Regions from separate parts of the Homo sapiens genome. Here region 1 is linked to region 2. The links are contacts of gene promoters, found by promoter capture Hi-C in blood cells and fetal thymus (Javierre and others, 2016). All regions are on one chromosome and are shown on one strand. The core of a region is centred on a gene start or on the middle of the fragment in contact, and the rest is flanking DNA. Distances in the headings are between cores, read along the strand shown. Region 1 holds the start of WFDC5 (WAP four-disulfide core domain 5). Region 2 holds the start of PI3 (peptidase inhibitor 3).

What was found. Contacts are between HindIII fragments. The CHiCAGO score rates a contact against its expected background, and 5 or more counts as called.
Region 1: the fragment with the promoter of WFDC5 here is called in contact with the fragment with the promoter of PI3 in region 2 in 3 of 17 cell types (M0 macrophages, M2 macrophages and M1 macrophages); the score reaches 7.4 in M0 macrophages.

The regions. Positions count from the first base shown.
Region 1 is chr20:45,112,244-45,119,029 of GRCh38, reverse strand. It overlaps WFDC5 (WAP four-disulfide core domain 5), which reads left to right and starts at 3,856. Exons shown (of 4, transcript NM_145652.4): 1 at 3,856-4,031. The coding sequence starts at 3,947. RefSeq lists enhancers at 3,419-3,918, 3,919-4,420. The HindIII fragment of the contact is 2,929 bases long and covers 2,708-5,636 here.
Region 2 is chr20:45,169,949-45,177,139 of GRCh38, reverse strand. It overlaps PI3 (peptidase inhibitor 3), which reads right to left and starts at 2,238. Exons shown (of 3, transcript NM_002638.4): 1 at 2,139-2,238; 2 at 1,004-1,279; 3 at 596-770. The coding sequence starts at 2,217. The coding sequence ends at 1,005. RefSeq lists an enhancer at 1,449-2,648. The HindIII fragment of the contact is 9,599 bases long and covers 1-6,954 here.

The DNA.
Region 1 (6,786 bases), core at 2,607-5,106, 60 kb after region 2:
AGCTTGACCAACATGGTGAAACCCTGTCTCTACTAAAAATACAAAAATTAGCTGGGTGTAGTGGCATGTGCCTGTAATCCCAGCTACTCAGGAGGCTGAGGCAGGAGAATTGCTTGAACCCGAGAGGTGGAGGTTGCAGTGAGTCAAGATCATGCCACTGCACTCCAACCTGGGTGACAGAGCGAGACTCCATCTCAAAAAAAAAAAAGGAAAAGAAAAAAAATGAAAACCCATAAACAGCCCCTGTTACAATAAGACTTAAGTTATTGATAAAGTTTTAATTCTTAATCAATGGCAAAAGTTTAAATTATTCACTAAATGATCATAGGACAATTGCTTAATTACTTACAAAAAAAAGATATTTCCTATTTCACGCTCTATACCAAGATAAACTTCAGCTAGATTAAAGAATTATCATGTCTTTCAAAAATCACAAAATAATAACAAGTAAATATAGTGAATATTTATCTAACATCAGAGTCAAAAAGCCTTTTTAGCATAAAAATAAAAGGAGAAAATATGAATGAAAAGATTGAATTGATTACCCCAAAATTTAATCCTTTGGTACTAAGCAAAAATGAGGAAAGAAATATTTGCAATATAGCATCAAAGCATTTATCAAGTTTATCTCATTCAGTTCTCAGAACCATCCTATAACACGTATATGATTATCTCTATCTCTACTGGTATACAAAAATAAACAGGGGTTTTACAAAATTAATGTCAAACAGATAGAGCCTATGGCACCAAGATTCAAAACTAGGTCTGCCTAACTCCAATATACATCTGTTCACTACTGCCCCTTGTGTATGACAGGTTAATAGATTCTTAATATATAAACAGCTCTTAAAACTCAAAAATAAAAGGACCCCCAATAAAAATGAGCAAAATACAAAAACAGGCAATTCACAGAGAAAGGATACAGTCAGTATGCGAATATGAAGAAATGCTCACCATCATGGGTATTAAGAGGAAGAGGAAGACAAATTAAAATGAAATATTGTTTTCCGTTAGCAAAGATTTTATTTACTTATTTTTTTAATATCCTGTATGTAGTAAGAATATCCACTAAGGATCTTTGGCTGTGAGCAACAGCATCTGAGCTTTGGACTGTTCTGTTTAGAGAACTGGCTTATCTGTTCAAGACTCTAATGAAGGCGTGGGCAAGTTAGGGGTGGAGAAGAGTGCAGTGGGTGTAACCTGGATCCAGTGCCCTCAGCTTTGATAGGAGAAGTACCTGCTGATTGGCAACCAACCAGAATGACAGCAGTCAGGAGGCAATGGTTCCACCAAAGGAAGAGACGCTGGGCAGACGAAACAATAGAGGTCTATGGCAGGGCAGGTGGAGGCTCTTGTACACTCACTTACTTCCTTTCTGAAATTTAATTTGACCAGATATATCCAACGCCTGGAAACATGACTGTGCCTTTTGACCTAGCATTTCTAACTTTGACAAATTTACTTTAAGAAAACAGTCAGAGATGTGACTCCAAAATGTACACAAAAAGATGGTTATCACAGCTTTATTTATGAAAGTGGAAAATTGGAAACCTCCATGTTTCATAATAGGATACTGATTGTGTATATTTTGGCATATCTTTTTTCCCTAAAAACTTTACTGAAGTGATGTTTTGACATATAGATCTAACAAAACAGCATGTAGCCATCAGAAAACATGATGTTTAGAGAACATTTCACAGCACAGGAAAATGTCTACAAAATAATTTTAATTTAAAAAGCATTGGCATGGTGGCTCATGCCTGTAATCCCAACACTTTGGGAGGCCGAGGCGGGTGGATCACCTGAATTCAGGAGTTTAAGACCAGCCTGACCAACATGGTGAAACCCCGTCTCTACTAAAAATACAAAAAATTAGCCAGGCATGGTGGCGGGCGCCTGTGGTCCCAGCTACTTGGGAGGCTGAGGCAGAGAATTGCTAGAACCCAGGAGACGGAGGTTGCAATGAGCAGAGATTGCCCCATTGCACTCCAGCCTGGATGACAGAGGAAGACTCCGTCTCAAAAAAAAAAAAAAAAAAAAAAAAAAGAGCATTTCATGGCTGAGCACAGTGGCTCACCCCTGGAATCCCAGCACTTTGGGAGGCCAAGGTGGGAGAATCACTTGAGTCCTAGAGTTAGAGACCAGCCTAGGCAACATAGGAAGACCCCCCATCTCTACAAAAAATAAAAACTAGCCAAATATTGGGGCGCATGCCTATAGTCCCAGGTACTCAGGAGGCTGAGGCAGGAGGACTACTTGGGTCCATGAGGTCAAGGGTTCAGTGAGCCATGATGGCACTGTGCACTCCAGCCTGGGTGACATAGCGACATTCTGTCAAAGACAGAGAGAGAAAGAGAAAGAGAGAGAGGAAAGAAGAAGGAGAAGGAGAGAAAGAAAGAAAGAAAGAAAGAAAGAAGGAGAAAGGAAAGAAAGAGAGGAAAGAAGGAAAGAAAGAAGAAAGAAATAAAAAAGGAAAGAAAGAAGAAAGAAAAAGAAAGAAGAAAGAAAGAAAAGAAAGAAAGAGAAAGGAAAGAAAGAGAGGAAAGAAGGAAAGAAAGAAGAAAGAAATGAAAAAAGGAAAGAAAGAAAAAGAAAAAGAAAGAAAGAAAAGAAAAAAGAAAGAAAGAGGGAGGGAGGGGTGGAGGGAGGGAGGGGTGGAGGGAGGGAGGAAGGAAGGGCTCATATATTTGTCCTCCAAAATAAAGCTTCCAAGGAGGTGCCAGCATTCCAAAAGCAACATCAGATCATAGAAGACAGAGCCTCTCCTATCTTAATAGCTTAGAAGACAGCACGAGAGATTCACATTAAACCCAAGGAAGAACTTCCTGCTGCCAGGGCTGTCCTGGATTGGAATGGGTAAGTGAGACAAGCCCTGTAATATCACCCTCCTTTCTCAGGATCAGATGAGGTATTGACCTGCTTTTAAAACCCAGGAACTGAATGAGGGTGATGGGGAGGCCACAGTGGGAAGTCCCAGCTTAGTCAGGAATTAGCTGCGTGTCCTTGGGCCAGTCCCCTCTCATCTCTATCTCACAGTTTCCTCGTCTTTCAAATGAGAAGGCTGAGAGAATGTACTTCGATGGAGTTTCTGTTTAGGATGTCCCTTAGGATGCCAAGTCTCAGCTCCCTCTCTTCTACCAAATGCAGGAGGCAACATCAGAGATACGAAATCTAAGGTGGGGGTCCCTGGATGAGATGACATTTTTTTGCTCAGGATCCCTTAGGGCCAGAGAAGAGGTTCCAGTGGCCACACATCTGCTGTGACCAGCAAACTTAGCCAAGCCAAAAGCCATGCTCCCCCACCCTCAACAGCCAAGCCAGCCCCAGGAAGAGGGCAGTTCTATCAGAAGCCACTGGTGATCTCACCAAAGGCGGGGTGGTCTTTCTCCCATCCACAGGACCCAAGAGGAGAGGCCAGGGCTGGCCTCACTCATTATGCCAGCCTGGGCCAGCCTTCTTTGGCTGCAAGCTCTGGCCTAACCCTAATGCCTTCTCCCTTCCTAGGCATCCAGAACTCTGCAAACCCCCACTCCTTTGCTATTCAAAGCTGACCTCTACCCGCTGCCTAGACATCGCTGGGGCTTCAACATCTTTGAGAGCCAGGATAGCAAGCATCTGCCTCAACAACCTTCACCCTGTGTACAGATGAAAAAACTGAAGCCCAGAGAGACAAGACTTGCCCAAGATCACAGCCCAAGTCACCGATACAGGCAAGACTGGATCTGAGTCCCCCACATGCAGGATGTGCCGCCACCCTATCTTCAGCTATTGTGACAGCATCCCTTGCACTGAGTCCTCGGGCCCTCAGGGGGTGGGGCCAAGATGAAGCAGGCACGGTGTCACTCCACACCCCCTCTCTTTCCTCTCCTGACTAAGTTTCTCTGGCTTCCCTGAGGCTGCAGGTGTTAATCTGGGGGGCCCTGGGCCCTGAGCCGGCAGCAGAAATATGAGGACCCAGAGCCTTCTCCTCCTGGGGGCCCTCCTGGCTGTGGGGAGTCAGCTGCCTGCTGTCTTTGGCAGGAAGAAGGGAGGTGAGTGCGGGAAATCCCTCTGCTGGGGGGACCAGATTGTCTCTACTTCTCTAGGGAGAGTAAGGGTTTGGGGGAAGGCAGGTAATGCCCTGTGGGGTGTGTGTGCGCGTGTGTGTGTGCGTGCGTGCGTGTGTGTATGTGTGGATGCCTGATTCTTAGTGCTTTCAGAAGCCTGTGTTTTTATGTGTGTACATTTGTGCCTGTCCACCTGCCTGTGTTGGTATCTGTAAGTGTCTTTTCTGCCAGTTTCTCGGTGCTTGTCTGTGCCTGTCTATATGTCAGGGGGTGGCAGGGCGGGGAATGCATGTGCCTGTGTCTGTGTAGACATGTGTCTTTGCGTCTGCTTGTCTGTGCAAAGCTCTGTCTGCACACGTACACTTAGGAATGGCTGCACGCATGTGTCTGAGCTTGGTGCCTGTCCATGTGTGTCTCTGTGCCTTCAGGTGTGGGGAGGGACCCTGTCTGTGCCTGCTGGGCTGTGGTGTGACTGGGTCAGTGGGTCCACCACCCCATCTGTGGAAGGGACTTGGGAATTGAGGAGAGGGTGTGGCTTCTGGGATCTGGGCTTTGTGGGGAGGAAGCTCTGTCTCTAACTCTCATCGCCCCCAACCTCCTGTCCCCATTCCCACCCCTGACAAGGCTGGGGCTGGCCTGCTGACAGGTGAGGGAGGGCTGCTGAGTGGCTAGACAGGTGACTCCTGATCTGGGTGAGGCCTCCACCTGCGTCCTTTTCTGGGGCTGGAACACTCCAACCTACATTCACCTGTGCAACCCTTGCCCTGCCTTAAAGAAAGGGGACAGTAATGGGGACAGGCTGAGGAAGGAAGTACACTGGTGAGCTCCAAGGCTGGACCCTGTGTTGGCTGTGATTCATGCACCATCATCACGTAACTCCTCGACAAGGTGCTGTGAGGACAGGACTATTTTCATCCCCATTTTGCAGATGAGGAAAATTGAGGCATAGCGGGGAACCACTTAACAAGGTCAAAGACTGACTCTGAGTTAGTGCCAAATGTGGCATTTGAATGCAAGTATTTGAAATCAGAAAGATTCACCTTACCAACTATTACAGCAAAAACCCAGGACTGTACAGGACAATGCACCCCCAACATAGGAAGGAGCTGAGAGACCAGAGAATGACTTAGACAAGGCCAGATTAGCAAGTGCATGAGTGCAAGTATTTGAAATCAGAAAGATTCACTTTACCAACTATTACAGCAAAAACCCAGGACTGTACAGGACAATGCACCCCCAACATAGGAAGGAGCTGAGAGAACAAAGAATGACTTAGACAAGGCCAGATTGGCAAGTGCATGAGTTTATTAGGACTTCCAGGCAGGACACTCCTGGAAGGCAACAGGACAGGTCTGGAGACTTACTCCTTGTAAAATGGGGTCCCATGCCTCTCTCTCAGGAGTAAATGGTGTCTCGAGGAATAAGGGCCTGGCACACAGTAAGCACAGCATAAGTGGGTGATTTGGGGGAGTCATTGTGTTCCCAGGGAGCACACCCCAATATTCAGCCCAGCTGCTCAGAGGCAAAGAGCTGGCACAGCAGAAACCGAGCCTGCGCAGGGCCACTCTGCATGGGCAGGTGTGACAAGCTTGTCTCTCCCCCAGTTCACCACACCTTGTCCCCCACTGGTTTCTCTCCTGTAAGACATTGCCGAGCTGTTGGTAGAATTTCAGACAATGGAGGAAGGTGACGAAGCCAAGGGAAGGGAAGTCTCAGTTTGTTGCCTGTGGAAGCCCAGCCGCCTCTGTTTATAAGAGCTCCCCATTCTGCCCCCTTCTCACTCAAACGTCTGGGTGTCTCTGATACAAAGAGCCTGGCATAGTCCCTGATAAACAGCAAGTGCCTAATTAAATGCTGTCAGTGGTTATGTGGTATTGGGAAGATATATGTGTCTGTGTAGCTCTGTGCATATGATTCTGTATATATGACTGTGTATGCTTATGTATGTCTCTCTGTTCACATACATATGCTATATATTTATATATTTATATACATAACTGTGTGTGTCTGAGTGTCTATCTGTGTGTATGTATCTATGTGGGTAGGCATGTGTAAATGACAGTGATTATGTTCCAGCTCATATGTACATACATGACTGCCTGTTTATATATGTTTATAAATATATTGCATATATATAACTCTCTGATATATGTCCATATGTATATATGTGTGTATTAAGTTGAACCATGTAAAATTGCTACTTTTGTAGATAAAACAGTTGACTATCTGCAGTTTCCTACTGTTAAGCCTGTAGCTAATTGTGTGTCTAGATCTAAATGTGCTTGTGTATTTGACTATGTGTGTATCGTCTGTGTGTACAAGTGTATATATTTAACCATGTTTGGATACGATTCTTTTGCTCTCTAAGTCTACACACCCATGGCGCATGCATCTGGATGACCATCTGTGTGTGTGACTGTCTCGATGTACACATCTGTGAGTGGAGAACCTGGTTTGGAGGGACTGTTAGGAAAGGCAGGCAAACAGAGTGAGTGTGACCACCCAGAGCCTCTCACGCCGGCTCTGCACACGCCAGGCTTTTATCCCCACCTCCACATTGCAGCTATCGCAGTTCTTCCACTGGAAATGCCAGCTGTCATGCCCCATCCCTATCTGTCCATTCCCCAAGGCCAGCCCCAGGCCCCTCGCCACAGAAGCTCTCCCTGCCTGACCCACCCGGCTCCACCGGCTTTGAGTGCACGCAGCTCCGTTTGGCCCACCCTTTGAGGCCTGCGCACCT
Region 2 (7,191 bases), core at 989-3,488:
TGCCTCCTCATTCACATCTTAAAACAGAAATCTGGAAGAGAATATTGCTTAACCTAAAGGAATGCTACTTCATGGAGGAATCTCAGGCATAAACCAGTGAAATTCTAAAGAGCAGGAGTTTCGCAGCATCTGTAACATCATCCTTTCTATGTGGTGTTGAAAAGATATAGATTCCTGGGAAACATTAATGAGAAGGAAGTGGGGAGCTGTAGTTGCAGCCATAAGGGTTGGCTGGTCACACTGGTAAGGCCGACAGTAGCCAGGTCAGGACTGATGGTGGATTGGAAAAAAAAGACCTGCTTATGGTTTATGTAATGTTTATTTATTTTTTGTGTTTTGTGTTTTTCCTGGTCCTTGGCCAAAGGCAAGATTTCCATATTTCCATTTCCTGGTGAAAAGGAGCTGGCAGCACTGGGGCTGATTATTGGATTTGTAATATGAAGCCCTAGCAATGTGCCTCCTGTTTCCTCCCCCCGCCCTGCTCTCTTTCACCATGGGACCGTTTCCCCTCTTCACTGGAGAGAAGAAGTCCCAATTCTACATCCATTTCCCCAAAGCATCCAGGAGCCCAGAAGTCATAGGAACCAGAAACAAGTGGAGCAGAAGGAACTCTTTATTGGAAAGTGGATGAGAGAGGCAGCTCCAGCCGTGGGCATCCTGAATGGGAGGAAGAATGGACAGTGTGGGAAGGGGAAGGGCAGCAGGGACTTAGGACCAGATGGGGCCTGTAGCTCTGGGGACGGCACAGGTGCAGCAAGGACCGGCTCCCTCTGTGGAAGAGAAGAGTATCAGAGGTGAGAGTCAGCACATCAAAGCACTCAGAGGCAGTGAGGAAGACAGATCATCCTTCTAGGCACTCTGGTTATAGCCTCTCAGACCCCTCAGTCTCCCAGTCTTTCTGTCACCTCCCACAACCTCCCTCCCACCAACCTGGGATGCTTCCCCACCGCTCAGCCTTCTTTTGTGTCTTCAGGGGTCTCCTCGTTCTCCAGCTAGTGCTCACCTCACTGGGGAACGAAACAGGCCATCCCGCAAGAGCCTTCACAGCACTTCTTGATTCCTGGGCAGTCAGTATCTTTCAAGCAGCGGTTAGGGGGATTCAACATGGCGCACCGGATCAAGATAATGGGGCAGGAGCCAGGCTTAGTGGAGACTGGACCTTTGACTGGCTCTTGCGCTTTGACTTTATCTTGACCTTTAACTGAAACTTGTCCTTTAACGGGATCTTGTCCATTGAATGGAACACGGCCTTTGACAGTGTCTTGACCTTTAACAGGAACTGTTAAAAGAAGAAACGAGCCCACATTTATACCCAGTAAGCCTCTGCTTCAGCTGCCATGTCTTTCCTCTGGGTCTGGGTCCATCCACTGCTTACTGCAGCATCCTCAAACCATGGCCTGAGTAGGGAAGGTACACCTCTGGGAGCTACACTCTTGGAAGGCTCTTCCTTTTTTGGGGTGGTCTACTGGACCAGAGTTCCCTTGAGTATTTGTTTCTTCCCCCTTCCTCCACTCCAAGTCTCTCAGGAGCAGTGGTCAGACTGGGGTGACACCCAGCAGTGAAGAGGACACATTGTCATTTGTTAGGAAGTGCATTGGAGTAGGAAAGAACCCTGAGCCACATACTAGGAGACTTGAGCCCCATCCTGGCTCTGGGAATTACCTTGGCAATTGCTCACTCATTTCTACATTTTTGGTTCCCTCCTTATAAAATGGGGGTCCTCAAACAACATGATTCCTGAAGGCTTGTTGTTTCTTAACCTCCTTTTAGAGTACTGATTACTCCAGTGCTTTTATGGGGCAGAGAAACGGGGGACTGTGTCCACACCCAAGGTTTAAAATCCTGGAGTTCATTATTTTATTGCACATTCTGCACAGGTATTGACATCTGAGGCCAAGGCCACATACCAACATTACTTCCACAAACAGTCCTGATATCTCAGTCACTGAGGTGGAAAGCACGTGGAGTCCACCAGCCAAAGTCCTATTTTTTCTGAATATGATGGCAAAGAACAGAAAGCTGAAATCTGGGCTCCAGTGCTGCCTACTGCTTCAGAAGTGCTCCCTGTCCTGGCCCAGGGTGTCCCAGAGGGTCTCCCCTTAGTCCAACCCAGCCCAGCAGGTCACCTGTTCACTCACCTCCCGTGACAGCTGCCTCTAGAACCAGCGTCCCAGCGATGAGGAACACCACCACGATCAAGAAGCTGCTGGCCCTCATGGTGTCAGGAAGGTGTTTGGCTAAGAGCTAAGGCCATACCAATCTTTATGCAGTCCAGCTTGGCCTGGCTCCAGGGGCGGGTCTGTGGTATTTACAAGGGATAATTCCTTAGCTGTATTGGGAAATATCCACCCCATTCTGGGAGGGACCTGGGGGCTTTCCCTCAGGATTATTCACAGGAAGAACTAATGGACATTACATCACATCATCTCTGATTGTCCCAAGAGTTTTCCTACTTTCTCACAGAGTAGAAGTGCTGGCTCACTTATTAGGTAACATTACAATGAAATTCTTCATGTTTTGAAATACAGTGAGACCCAAGAAGAGAAAGGAATCACCGAAGGTTATTCAGCAAGTCACTGGTAGATCCAGTCTTGATTACAAAACCAAGGTGTTTCTCCATTATGCTCTGGTGCTACAAACCCCACCCAGATCTACTTTATCATTTTACCACTCCCAGCATCAAACTGGGCATTTCCTTCCTTCTTCCCTGGTCCTGCAAAAAACTCTGTAAGACAAATTTGCCTTGAATACATAATGACTAATTATTGCACTTTGCTGTTTCAGAGACGGCCTTTCAGATGCATCAAGAAAGTAATTGGAAGGTGGAATTCTAGGTCTGAAGAGGGATGATGCCCTTGAAATCACAGTGGTAGGGAGAAAATAATCAGAAAGTAGTAGAAAACATGTATCATGTATACATTGGACATCTACAGTGTGTGTGTCCAGCATGCCTCCCCACTTCTTTGAACAGCACCCTGTTTCTTGTGAAGAATTGTTGTCTCTTTGAACCATCAACTTGTGAGTCTAATGGGGACTGCTAATCATGAAAGCCTGACCCCTGACCACAGGTAGGGGTGTGTGTGTGTGTGTGTGTGTGTGAGTGTGTGTGTGTGTGTTGTGTGTGAGACTTGGTCTGGTCTATTAACATATTTTATTTGAATGAGTAATGAAAGGGGAAAACGGGGGTTCCTTCTTCTGGAAAAGGTGATATATATGAACCAGGGAATTCCAGAAGTGGTTATCTAAGTCTGGGGGTGGAGATCAATTGTCTGAGAAAAACGACTCTAATACACTGAGACAAGGAGAGAAGTGATGGTGAGAGAAGATTCAGATGACACAGCCAGGTTTCCCTCCTTTACCTTGAGAGCAGTTCTTCACACACCCTTCTCATGGTTGGGTTATGAGGCAATAAATTAGCCCTCTGCTTCAGCTAGTCTGACTTACTATTCTGTCATTGTTACCAAAAGTTCTGAGTAATAGAAATGAATATCCTGAAGTTGGGTATTGTCAGGGACAGAATCTGAGTTAAGAAAGTCACTGAGTTGAGGTGGAGTTAAGGCAGGGAAGGTAACAAACTAATTATTGGACACTAATTCAGCTGGTGAAATCCCCACCCCTTGTCGATTTAGACTCTGACCACATGCCCACCAAGCCTGAAACTGAGGGAGACATAAACGAATGTCAGACTGTGGAAGCCTTTGGCTACCTTACACAAAAGCTCATTGTACAATAAGCCATACAAACAAATAAAAAGCTCACAGAAAATACCTATATTCTTTAAAGAATAGCATTAAAATGAGCTGCCAGGTAAAGGAGGAGAATATTTGCTATATCTATGCTCCATGCCTCTCCTCAGTTGCTTCATTCTCCTTCCTCCCCAGAGATAACTGCTTCCTAAGATTTTATGGTAATTAGCCCTTGCTTTCCTTTATAGTTATGCCACTTCTGTCTGTATTCTGAAATATATATTCAGTTTAGTATACTTTTTCAATTTGTATGTAAATGAAATCTAAGGTATAGTGTTCATATGTCCTGCTTATGTTGCTCAACATTATATTTTTGAGAGTCATCCATTTTGAAGTCTACACCTGTAGTTCATCATTTTCACTGCTGTACAGTATTCTATGAAAAATACCAAAAATGTTATATATTCATTCTACTGTCAATATACATTGGATATTTCTAGGTTTTAGCTATTATAGTGTTGCTATGAATATTCTTGTACATATCTCTTGCAGAACATAGGTATGCATTTATTTTGGATATATGGTTAGGAATGGAATTGCTGGATCACAGAGTACAGATCACAGAGTATAGATACATCCAGCTGTCATAAATACTGCAATCAATTTTCCAACATCATTGTACCAATTCACACTGCTATCAGCAATGTGTGAGCATTCCATTTGCTCCATAATCTCACCAATGCCTCATATGATTTGCCTTTTCATTAGCCATTCAGGTGGACATCTTGTGGGATTTCCTGTGATTTGAATTTACACTTTCCTAATAACTGGTGAAGCTGACCCATTTTTAATACTCCTTTTTTTTTTTTTTTTTTTTTTGAGATGGAATTTCGCTCTTGTCACCCAGGCTGGAGTTCAATGGCACAATCTCAGCTCACTGCAACCTCCACCTCCCAGGTTCAAGTGATTCTCTTGCCTCAGCCTCCCAAGTAGCTGGGATTACAGGCACATGCCACCATGCCCAGCTAATTTTTATATTTTGCAGTTTCACCATGTTGGTCAGGCTTGTCTCGAACCGCTGACCTCAGATGATGCACCTGCCTTGGCCTCCCAAAGTGCTAGGATTACAGACATGAGCCACTGCACCCGGCCCATTTTTAATATTTCTATTATCCATTTGGCTATCCTCTTTTGTGAAGTGCCAATTCAAGTATCTTACCTTTTATTTACTTATTTATTTAATTTCAACTTTTATTTTAGATTTGAATGGGTTGTTTATCTTTTCTTATTGATTTGTAGTAGAAAAGAAACTTTTATGCATTACTAATGAGAGTCTATATTGGTGAAACATTTAAAAACAGTTTGACATCAGCTAGTAAAATTGAATGTGTACACAATCTATAATTCAGCAATTGCACTCCTAAAGATTTAATTAAGGAAAATATTTCCACATGTTTACCAAGAAACATGCACAATAATGTTCATAAAAGTACTGTTTTTAACAATAACATACTGGAAACAGTCCATGTTACCAATACTAAAATACTGGATAAATATGTCATGACATATTAATGCATAAATATGTCATGACATATTAATGCAAGGAAGTATTATACAATTATGAAAATAACTGAATTACAGCCATGCACAATATGACCATAATTAAAATAATGTTGAATAAACAACACAAGTCCACAGTGACAATATTTAGAATTACCCACTTGTCATAAAACTCAAATGAAGGAGAACTGGGAAATATATTGCCTAGGCATATTTACATATGAAGCAAAGCTCAAAAAGGGATACATAAAAAATGAAAAAACTATAAAAATGACATACAAGATAGTGGCTAACTCTGGAAACGAGAGAAGAAAACATTCTGGATGGGTGAGAAGGACACGGGTTGATTTAAGTTGTTGGTTATTAGTAATGTTCTAGTTCTTTGATTGCTTGGAGAGAGAGAGAGAGAGAGAAAGCTGCAGAGCGAATCATTTATAGACTACCTTAGCTTTCAATAAACCCACATTGCTACCCTCGCAAGTTGTTTCCAATATTTTGCCATTACAAACTATACCACATGTGGCCTTTCTTAGCTTGCTTTCTTGTGAACCAGATTCCCAGAAGTATATTTGCTTATACAAAGGTGAAATGCATTTGAAATTTTGATAATATTGCCATATTTCCCTTGATAGGGGTTGTACCATATTGTAATCCCACCAGTAGTGGATAAACTTGCCTGCTGTTTCCATCAAGCCTCATGAACAGACTGTGTGTCTAATTTTGGGGTTTTATTTTTAACTTTTATTTTAGTTTCAGGGGTACATGTGCAGGTTTGTTGTATAGGTAAATTTCATGTCATGGGGGGGTTCGTGTGCAGAAGTATTTCATCACCAGGTAATCAGCATAGTACTCGATTCGTGTTTTGATCCTCACGCTCCTCCCATTCTCTACCCTCAAGTAGGCCCTAGTGTCCATTGTTCCCTTCTTTGTGTCCATATGTACTCAATGTTCAGTTTTCATTTATACGTGAGAAAATGTGGTATTTTCTTTTCTGTTCTTGTGAAAGTTTGCTTAGGATAATGGCCTCCAGCTCCATCCATGTTGCTGCAAAGGACATGATCTTGTTCTTTTTTATGACTCGTAGTATTCTATGGTGTTTACATACCACATTTTCTTTATCCAGTCTATCATTGATGAGCAATTAGGTTGATTCTATGTCTTTGATACTGTGAATAGTTCTGTGATTCACATACTACATGGATGTGTCTTTATGATAGAATGATTTATATTCCTTTGGGTATATAACCATTAATGGAATATCTTGGGTTGAATGGTAATTCTGTTTTAAGTTCTTTGAGAAATTGCCATACTGCTTTCCATGCTGGCTGAACTAATTTACATTCCTACCAGCAGTGTATAAATGTTCCCTTTTCTCTACAACCTTGACAGCATATGTTATGTTATAACGACTGGTGTGAGATGCTATCTCAATTACTGTTTGGATTTTCATTTCTCTAATGATCTGTGATGTTGAGCATTTTTTCATTTGTTTGTTGGCAACATGTATGTTTTCTTTTGAGAAGTTTCTGTTCATGTCCTTTGCCCACTTTCTAATGGGGTTGTCTGTTTTTTGCTTGTTAACTGGTTTAAGTTCCTTATAGATTCTGGATATTAGACCTTTGTTGGACACATAGCTCACAAATATTTTCTTCTATTCTGTAGGTTGTTGGTTTACTGTGCTGATAGTTTCTTTTGCTGTGCGGAAGCTTTTTAGTTTAACTAGGTCCTATTTGTCAAGTTTTGTTTTTGTTGCTATTGCTTTTGGCATCTTCATCATGAAATATTTACCAAGTTCTACGTCCAGAATCATATTTCCTAGGTTACCTTGCAGGGTTTTATAGTTTTATGTTTTACATTTAAGTCTTTAATACATCTTGAGTAGATTTTTGTATATGGTTTAAGGAAGGGGTACAATTTCAGTCTTCTGCATATGGCTAGCCAGTTA